Linked DNA regions of Homo sapiens: region 2 is linked to region 1. Evidence: promoter capture Hi-C in human tissues and cell types (Jung and others, 2019). All regions are on one chromosome and are shown on one strand. The core of a region is centred on a gene start or on the middle of the fragment in contact, and the rest is flanking DNA. Distances in the headings are between cores, read along the strand shown.

Region 1 (4,166 bases), core at 463-2,962:
AGAGCCTCAATTAGGCCCTGGTTTGGGCAGGGGTTTGCTCACTACCTTGGGGTTGGGGGCAAGGGGGCCTTCCTAAGCCCAGCAAGGGCCAAGGTAGGGTCTGGGCCCAGGGCCAGTGGGCAGAGCAGGAGGTGGGCCTTCACAGGACATGCGAGGGGAAGGAGGCAGTCAAGCTTCCTACCATGAGGCTCAGTGGTGGGTGGGCATCCACGTGTTCTGGCCGAGAGACCTGTTGGCAATTATGAAAGGATTAGAGGTCAAGGTGCCAGAAGCCCAACTTCCAGGCTAATCAAGGGGGTACTGTGCTCTCTGCTCCTTTACCTCCAGCCCCAGATTTCTCTAGCAGGGACATGGGGCTGGGCTGAAGCAGCCATGGCACTTGAGTGAAGGAGGCCCACTGAACTCTTGTTCCTCTTTAGAGTGTATGTGTGTGTGGCATGTGTGACTCACTCCACAAAGCCGTAAGAAGTGGATGCCACGTGCCAGGCACTGAGTAATGGGGATACAGTAGTGGACACGAGGACCCTGCCTTCACGAAGCAGTCTGGCGGAGGAAAGAGTTAAATAACCACACAAATAAGCACACTGCAACCACGACAGCGCTCAAGTACAGGGAACTATGAAAGCCACTTAGACTAGAACGTTCAGTGTAATGGGTCACTTCCCCAGGGACCTCGGCCAAGGTAATGGAGGTGGAGAGAGCACTCCAGGCAGCAGGAATAGCATGTGAAAGGGCCTGAAGCAAGAAGAAATGGGGTTGGATGAACCAGTGTGGGTAAATTCCCGGCAGCAAGGGAAGGCAGTGAGCGACTGGAGGTTGGGGAAGGCAGTGAGCGACTGGAGGTTGGAGAAGGCAGGAGCAAAAATGACAAACTGTAGGGAAGACAAGAGTGGACATGGAAACCCCTGCCCTCAAGTACATAAATTCCAGTCTCCAGCTCACCTGTCGCCAGGATGGAACCAGGCACAGGGATGTAATCTGATATAAATCGTTCACCTCAATTAAGCCAATGACCCCAGACCCTCTACCTGCCCAGGCATTCCCCCGGGAGGTCGGAATGGGAAAAAGAGTCTTCGTATGGCAGCTTCTGGCCCAGAAAGTGGTTTGTGGGTGGAAGCCCCAGGTCACCGGCACAGGTAGGCTGATCCCCCCACCTGGCTCCTGACAGTAGGAATGCCCGGAATAGCAACCAGAATTTAGAGAAGACAAACAGCCTACCCCACCCAAGGCACCGTTCCTTCCTCCACTGTCACTTATCCTAGGCCTTCCGGGGCAATAAATAGAAAGAGAAAAGGCTCTAGAAGGAGGTGATTTCGCAGGAGGAGTCAGGGCCCCGGGAGTAGACCCAGGCCTGAAGAAAAGGCCGCAGCTGGAGCTCGCCTTACTCAGGCCCCGGACACCGTGGCCGCCACGAGCGGGGTCTGCGGGGAGCTGCGAGACTCGGCCAAACGAAGCCCACCTCGCGCCGCCGCGGGGGAGGGTGGCTGGGCTCGACCACCTCCCACACCAGGCGCTCAAGGCCCCGCAAAGCCCCCGCGCTTTCCCGCCTGGAGGCCCGGGGGACGCGGGGACCCCAATGCCGAAGGCGGGAGGGCTAAGGAAGCGACCAGGGATCACTCGGACCGAGGGCAACCCGAGTCCGCGCCCGCCGCGCCGACTCACCCTCCCTGAGGACCACCCGAGGCTCGCAAACGCGCGACGCCGCCGGAAACGGGCCTTGGCCACCCGCGTCCGCCCCGCCCCGCAAACTTCCGGCCGCCCTGGGCCGCTCGGAGGCCCGGCCATCTCTGTGGTTCTCAGCCCCGCCTCCCAGGCTCCGGAGAAGGGGTGGAGTCAGAGCCGAGGAGGGGCGAGGCTGGGGCCCGAGGGACAAGAACCTGGGCGGGACCAGAAGCCCAGATAGGCGGGGCTGGCGCCTGGGGGCGGGGTACAGTCAGAGGCGGGCAGGGGGCGGAGCCGCGAGGGAGAGGAGGGCCCAGAGCCCGGAGTGGGCGGTGCCTGAGCAGGGGCGGGGCGGGGCCGGGGCCTGGAGCTGGGGACGCGGGCCGGGGCCGGGAGTTGCGGACTCGCTGGCGGGTGGGAGGAGCGGAGTCGGGGCGAGGCTGGCGGAGATCCAGGGGATCGCCCGGTTGGGCCCTGCGCACCCCGGATCACCAGCTTCGGGCGCTGGTTCCCACCGAGGCTGTTCAGGCGCCGCTCCCCCGCGTCCCTGCGACAGGAGGCGCCTGCTGGGCGCGCTATGGACCCCGCCTCGCGGAGACGCCTGGCTCGGGCCTTGTCCCCAGTGAGCGGCTGGAGCGGCCGCGGGGTCGCAGAGCCTCCGGGACCCCGAGGAAGGGCGCCCCTCGGAGTTGCCCGAGGCCGGGCCCGGCGTCCACTCGCCACTCGCCTCGCCCCTCCCCGGCCCCGCACCGCCCTCCACCCCGCCTCCTTCGGGTTCCTTCTGCGTCCGGCAGAGCCTGCGCGCCTCCCCCGGACGGCCACGGACTCGCAGCCTCGGCGAGGACGCTGCCTGCGTCCCGACTGCCTGGACCTCCCCGCGTGGCTCCCGGCGAAGCCCAGCAGCCGGAGGGTGCCAGGTCCGCCTGACGCGCCCCTCCCCACGGGAAGAACGGGGCGGGGGTCCAGGAGGGACGTAAGCCGGGCTCCCCCGGCGTGTTGATCCGAACCCGCGCGGGAAAACTTGCGCAAACCAAAGGAGGGAAGAGTCAGGCAGCCCCCAGCCCCCCAGGGAGGCCCAGGTGAAAAACAGACGCCGGCCTCGCCTCTCCCGGTGCGGATGATCCCGGCACTCCCACCCCCGCCCCTGCTGCCCCGAGTTCGGCTCCCTCAGCCCCACATCCTCTCTGGTCATCTAAGTGGACTGCAGCTGCTCAGGGAGCATGTCGCGAAGGATAGGGAAGGACAGGGGGTCTGCTTCCCCAGCCGCCCTCCAGACCCCCAGGGCTGGTAGGGGCCGGCAACCCTATGCCCCAACCTGGCCTGCTGCAGGTGAGGGGGGCACACCAGGGTAACACAGGAGCAGGAGGGGGAGAAAGCCTGGCTAGAGCATCCACCTCATAGGCACCTTCCTTGTGTCCAGGGTGCAGATGCCAGGGCTCTGAGGCCCTGAGGTCCTGTCTGGGGCGAGGGGGCTTCCTCCATCCACTGCATCCACTGCCCGGCTGAGTCTAGAGGCCACTGAGCAAGCAGACCCTCCAAAGCCAGGCACACTCAGGCCCTCACATGGTCACGGTGCTTATGCTCTGGGCCAGCCTGGATTGCTCATCCCTAGCTGAGATTGGGATTCACAGGGTCTTCCAGTTCCCCCTTTTCTTTCTCTACTGATTGAGAAACACAGAGTCCTTTGATTGCTCTGGGACCTGGCCATTGCGTGTTCCCTGCAGCCTTGAACCCAGTTCAATGGGGCCGGGCACATTCCCTGATAAAGCTGTTTAGGTTGCTTGAAAACACAATCAACCCTATTGCTAAACACGTAGAAACTGGCCCTGCCCTGAGTCCAATCCCTTAAACTCTCATCTAAGCTCCATAGCCAGAGTCCCTTGCTGCAAATGTACCTGGGTGGAGCATCCCTTGCCTCATCATCGATCCCAAGAAAGCTGAAGCTCCATGTGAAAATTTCCGGAAGAAATGCTCTGGACTGATCACCCTGGCGTTTAGAGCTTCTTTCCTTGGAATCCCAACCAATTCCATCGCGGGACTGTTTGGGGAAGTCTTTTGAGGCAACTCCCTTGCTGCCACTTTTGGGGCAACTCTAGCCTCCTCATATTTGGCCAGATAGAACAGTTCCAAGCTGTAAATGTTTCCAGGAAAAAATCTCAACTACAAAGACACTTTCAAGGTGCTGCATTTCCAACAGCACTCTCCGTATCCGAGTGGACAGCCCAGAGCAATGGTGCTTCCAATCCACAGAGCCCCTCCACAGGTCCCTTGCCATCTGCAGACACCCACATCTCAAGGTGAGTGCAGACACCCACATCTCAAGGTGAGTTCAAATGTATCCTGGATTTGTTTTTTGTTTGTTTGTTTGTTTTTTAAGGCAGAGTTTCACTTTTGTTGCCCAGGCTGGAGTGCAATGACAGTCTCAGCTCACTGCAACCTCTGCTCCCGGGTTCAAGCGATTCTCCTGCCTCGGCCTCCCGAGTAGCTGAGATTACAGGCACCTG
Region 2 (4,467 bases), core at 1,782-4,281, 310 kb after region 1:
CTACAGAAGGGAGGGGCAGGGCAGTGGTGGGGCCCGCTCACCTGAGCAGCTGGTCCAGCCTCCCTGAAAGGAGAGAGGAGCCCATGCTGAGCTCACGCAGACAGGTGAAGCGGCCCATCTGGGCAAGGAAGTAGCGGAAGTTGTCCTCGCCATCCACGGAGGGCTGCCTTGAATCCCCATGCACATAGTGGAGCCGCAGGCTGGCCAGGTGCTGGAAGCGGGCCACGTGTGGGATGATCACAGACAGGCCGCGCAGGCCCAGATTGTTGAAGCGCAGGTCCACGCGGCGCAGGCAGCCTGCATCCAGAAGCTGCAGCAGGGCCACAGTGTTGCGCATGGGCAGGTCCTCAGCTCGCAGGTCCCGGCAGCAGAGCCGCAGCGGGCTGCCCACGCTGCTTCGGAGTGCCTCCCGCAGGAACGCATAGGAGGCCCGGTTCACCCGCAGGTCCACGCGCACCTCCACGGGGATGGGGGCTGGCCCAGGCTCTGCGGCCCCACCCTGCTGCTGGGCAATGCATGTGCGAGCTACGGCAGCAGTACAGTCCCACATGCTCATGGTGCCAGGATCCTGTTCCACACCATCATCCAAGAGGCCCGTCATGTCCAGCACCCGCAGCGCATGCTTCCTGGGAGTAGGAATGGTGTGAGGAAGGGGTGGAGGGGCAGCGCCCATACCCCCTCCCAGCCACCTTGGGACAGGAGCAACGCGCCTGCTCCTGCATGAGCTCTTGCTAACTTTATGACCCAAGCCTCCTCAGGGGACCCACTTACACACCCCTGGCCTGACGACCCTCCAGATAAGTCCATACCTGCAGAGGGGCTGTGTGCTGGCCCCAGGCTCTGAGGTGTGGAGCCGGGCAGTCAGCCCCAGGATAACAGCCTGCATGCTCTCAGTGCTAGGCCGCTCCTGCAGGAGGGCACGGCTGCAGTGGGCACACTCCTGTAGCAGCTGCTGGAAACTGAGCAGCGGGAAGGGCCACGTGTGTACCAACTCGCGCAGTACCACTGTCTTCTTGTCCATGAAGGCCACCTTGAACAGCAGGGGGAAGAGTTCGCGTGGCAGCAAGGGCAGGGCCTGGCAGGCAGCTGGCTGGCACTGCAGCACCTGCCGTGTGCTCAAGAACACAAGCGTGTGCATGGTGCTGGGCCGGGCAGACGGCCACCTGCAGGAGAGGGACTTCAGCAGGGAGGAGAGACCCTAGGCCACTACCAAGCCACACACAAGTGGTAGGAAGGCCCAGCATAGTGCCTGAAACAAAGTCAGCAGTTAGCAGTGGCCATGGCACAGAGAAGCACCTATTAGATGCCTAGCGCTGGGCTGGGTGCAGTGAACTGGCAGACAAACTCACAACTCAGCCCCAGCCCTCCAGATGCACAGGATCTCTTTAGAGAAACTAAGCGTCAAGCAGTGTGGCATCGTCAACAACTCGCTTGCTTGGGTATGCTTTTGACAGATGCCTGTTGCCTTGCAGGGCCCCCCATGGGTACTTCAGGCCTCTCAAATTACAAAGCTGCTTCACAAAACCTTCTTCGAAACCTGAATAAAGCCCAGGACTCTCCCCACCAACCTTCATCAGCATTAGTATTGACGGGACACTCTAAGGAGTCAAGCAGCCAAATCACCTTTCCCTCCCCTCTCCTCACAGATGCTCTCCAGGGCTACACTTGGACTCCACAAAACACCAAAGAGCTGGAAGCACAGAAGCAGCTTCATAAGCAACAAGGCAGGTTGAAAAGACCGAGACCCAGGGAACACCGAGTCCAGATGATGTAGCCTATAAAATACAAGCCCCCGCAAAAGCTACTATTCTCCAGAGCGTCACCAAGCACGGAGACCCCGAAAGAAAGCAACCCTCACCTTTGTTGGCCCTTACCACTGGCCTAAACCTCTCCCTCTTCCCTGGAGAGCCACTGTGGAAAGACCAAGTCTTAAGTATGTGGGATTCAGAAGGTGCAAAGCTACAGACTGCTCAGACAAGGCAAAGAAAGCTGCCTCAGCAGCACCCAAGCTGCAGAGATGCACAAACACTCCCAAGGCCACAAGGTACCTGTGACACAGGGTGCCAGCCCTGCTGCTGCCTGTAGCATCCTCAAAACTAAATCGCAGCCATCTCCCTGTGACAGATTAGAAAATGAAGGCCTCGGCCTGGCCCAAGGTCACAGCCTGAGTGACAAGCCAGGGAAGGGGGCCGGGGAAGACACTCTGGCCCCAAGGCCCTTCTTTTTGTCGACTTTTCCACATACAAGTAAGTCCTTAAGGCACCGGTTCCTGAAAAGTCCCAGACACCAACCCTCGGCCTAGTTCTGCCGGTGGACAGATCTCAACGATCATACTCGCTCTGACAGGACAGACCAACCGAGCACTTGTCACGGGAGAACACCAAAGCAGACGGCCTGCCCACCAAGGGAGGCAGGCACCTCCGTGCGACGCCCCCTCCCCTCCCGCCGGCCGCAGGGAACGCGACGGTCCTCGGTCGCCTGCGTTTCGCGAAGACGCCCCCGCCCGGCTCCTCCGGGCCTCGAGCCGCGGGAGGCGCTGGACCCTCCGCTCTTTCGCCTCCCGAGCGGGGCCTGCTCCTCCAGGTCGGATGCGTCTCCCACCAGGGCCTGACGCCGCTCCGACCGGCCCGGGGACTCCCAGTCCTTCCCGGCCCGCGGTGGCACCTCCCAGGCTCCCGGCCTCGGCCCCGGGCTCCCAAATGCAGCCACTGCCTCCCTCGGCCAGGCCGCCCCGAGCGACCGGTGCCCCGCCCCTTGAGGCCAGGCAGGGCCAGGGGCGTGCGCCGCCCCGCTCAGACACCCCCCCGGCCGCCCGCGCTCACCGGTCCCGCAACCGCAGCCACCGCCTCCAGCCCCGCCTAGACCGTCCGCCGCTCCCCGCCCGGCGCCGCGGCGCCCCGCGATGACGTTGACGCCTCCCATTGGCTGCTTGTCCGAGGCCCGACGGACTGGCTGCCCAGGGGCGGTGGCCCCGCCCCCGGCCCGCCGCGCATCCGCATTGGCTGTCGGCCCCCGCGACGGCTGCGCGGGAGATTCGCTGGACGATCGCAAGCGCGGAGGCCGGGCGGGCGCGCGCGCCATGGAGCGGCTGCGGGACGTGCGGGAGCGGCTGCAGGCGTGGGAGCGCGCGTTCCGACGGCAGCGCGGGCGGCGACCGAGCCAGGTGCGGGCTGCCCAGGGGCCGAGGGGCTGAGGGCGCGGCCCGCGGCTGACGCGTTCCCTTTACAGGACGACGTGGAGGCGGCGCCGGAGGAGACCCGCGGTGAGCGCGCGGCGGGGCGGCGGGGGCGAGAAGACACCGGGTCGGCAGGGGCCCAGGCCCCACCCTGACCCCGCCTCCCGCTCGCCCACGCAGCGCTCTACCGGGAATACCGCACTCTGAAGCGTACCACGGGCCAGGCCGGCGGCGGGCTCCGCAGCTCCGAGTCGCTCCCCGCGGCGGCCGAAGAGGTACCCAGGCCCCGCCGCCCCAGCCTCCTCCCACTTCCCTGTTTGGCGGAGTGGCGGGAGCCACGGAGTCGCGGCCAGGCCGCCGTGGGGCACAGAACTTGGGAGGGGGACTGGGCAAAGTGAAGAAGGGCCGGGCCTCGCTCCAGGTGCGGGAGGGGTGGCTGGGAGCGCTTCTGCCGCCACAACAGCCTTTTCTGGCCTGTGCCCCTGTTGTCTCCTGCAGGCGCCAGAGCCCCGCTGCTGGGGGCCCCATCTGAATCGGGCTGCGACCAAGAGTCCACAGTCTACGCCAGGGCGGAGCCGCCAGGGCTCGGTGCCGGACTACGGGCAGCGGCTCAAGGCCAATCTGAAAGGCACCCTGCAGGTGAGGAGTGGGCAGGCAGTGAGTCCACGCTAGGTCCACAGCTGCTTCCGGTCCGGGTCGCCCTCTTGTCATTTTTTCCACACAGACAGGCACGGGCCCCTGTGCCAACCAGGGCACGAGTCTTCAGGGAGCTTCTCGGGGCCTTCGCCCTTGACTCCCTTTCTAGTCCAGCCTTGTGCTAATTAGCCTGCTCTACAATTGAGCGTGGGGACTCAGGTAGGTTTTAGAGTCTACAGTAGCTCAGGGGCCTGAGTTCCTCCTGCTGTTCTGTTGTTCCCCTCCCAGGCCGGACCAGCCCTGGGCCGCAGACCGTGGCCTCTAGGAAGAGCCTCATCTAAGGCATCCACCCCAAAGCCCCCAGGTACAGGGCCTGTCCCCTCCTTTGCAGAAAAAGTCAGTGATGAGCCTCCACAGCTCCCTGAGCCCCAGCCAAGGCCAGGCCGGCTCCAGCATCTGCAGGCATCCCTGAGCCAGCGGCTGGGCTCCCTAGATCCTGGCTGGTTACAGCGATGTCACAGTGAGGTCCCAGATTTTCTGGGGGCCCCCAAAGCCTGCAGGCCTGATCTAGGCTCAGAGGAATCACAACTTCTGATCCCTGGTGAGTCGGCTGTCCTTGGTCCTGGTGCTGGCTCCCAGGGCCCAGAGGCTTCAGC

The links. The method cuts DNA at HindIII sites, captures the fragments that hold promoters and counts their contacts. A contact is called where the count stands out against the background at its distance.
Region 2: the fragment with the promoter of RECQL4 here is called in contact with the fragment with the promoter of ZNF7 in region 1 in 1 of the 25 tissues and cell types used here (dorsolateral prefrontal cortex).

What each region holds. Positions count from the first base shown.
Region 1 is chr8:144,825,106-144,829,271 of GRCh38, reverse strand. ZNF7 (zinc finger protein 7) reads right to left here and starts at 1,712. Exons shown (of 5, transcript NM_003416.4): 1 at 1,663-1,712; 2 at 182-229. The coding sequence starts at 184. LOC100130027 (a long non-coding RNA gene) reads left to right here and starts at 2,232. Exons shown (of 5, transcript NR_147501.1): 1 at 2,232-3,959. RefSeq lists enhancers at 483-1,008, 1,009-1,534, 1,535-2,060 and a silencer at 1,392-2,521. The HindIII fragment of the contact is 13,991 bases long and covers 1-4,166 here.
Region 2 is chr8:144,516,397-144,520,863 of GRCh38, reverse strand. It overlaps RECQL4 (RecQ like helicase 4), which reads left to right and starts at 3,031. Exons shown (of 21, transcript NM_004260.4): 1 at 3,031-3,163; 2 at 3,229-3,262; 3 at 3,356-3,450; 4 at 3,674-3,814; 5 at 4,100-4,467. The coding sequence starts at 3,080. LRRC14 (leucine rich repeat containing 14) reads right to left here and starts at 2,872. Exons shown (of 4, transcript NM_014665.4): 1 at 2,823-2,872; 2 at 810-1,249; 3 at 42-626. The coding sequence starts at 1,138. RefSeq lists an enhancer at 1-193 and silencers at 2,417-2,586, 2,677-3,426. The HindIII fragment of the contact is 29,803 bases long and covers 1-4,467 here.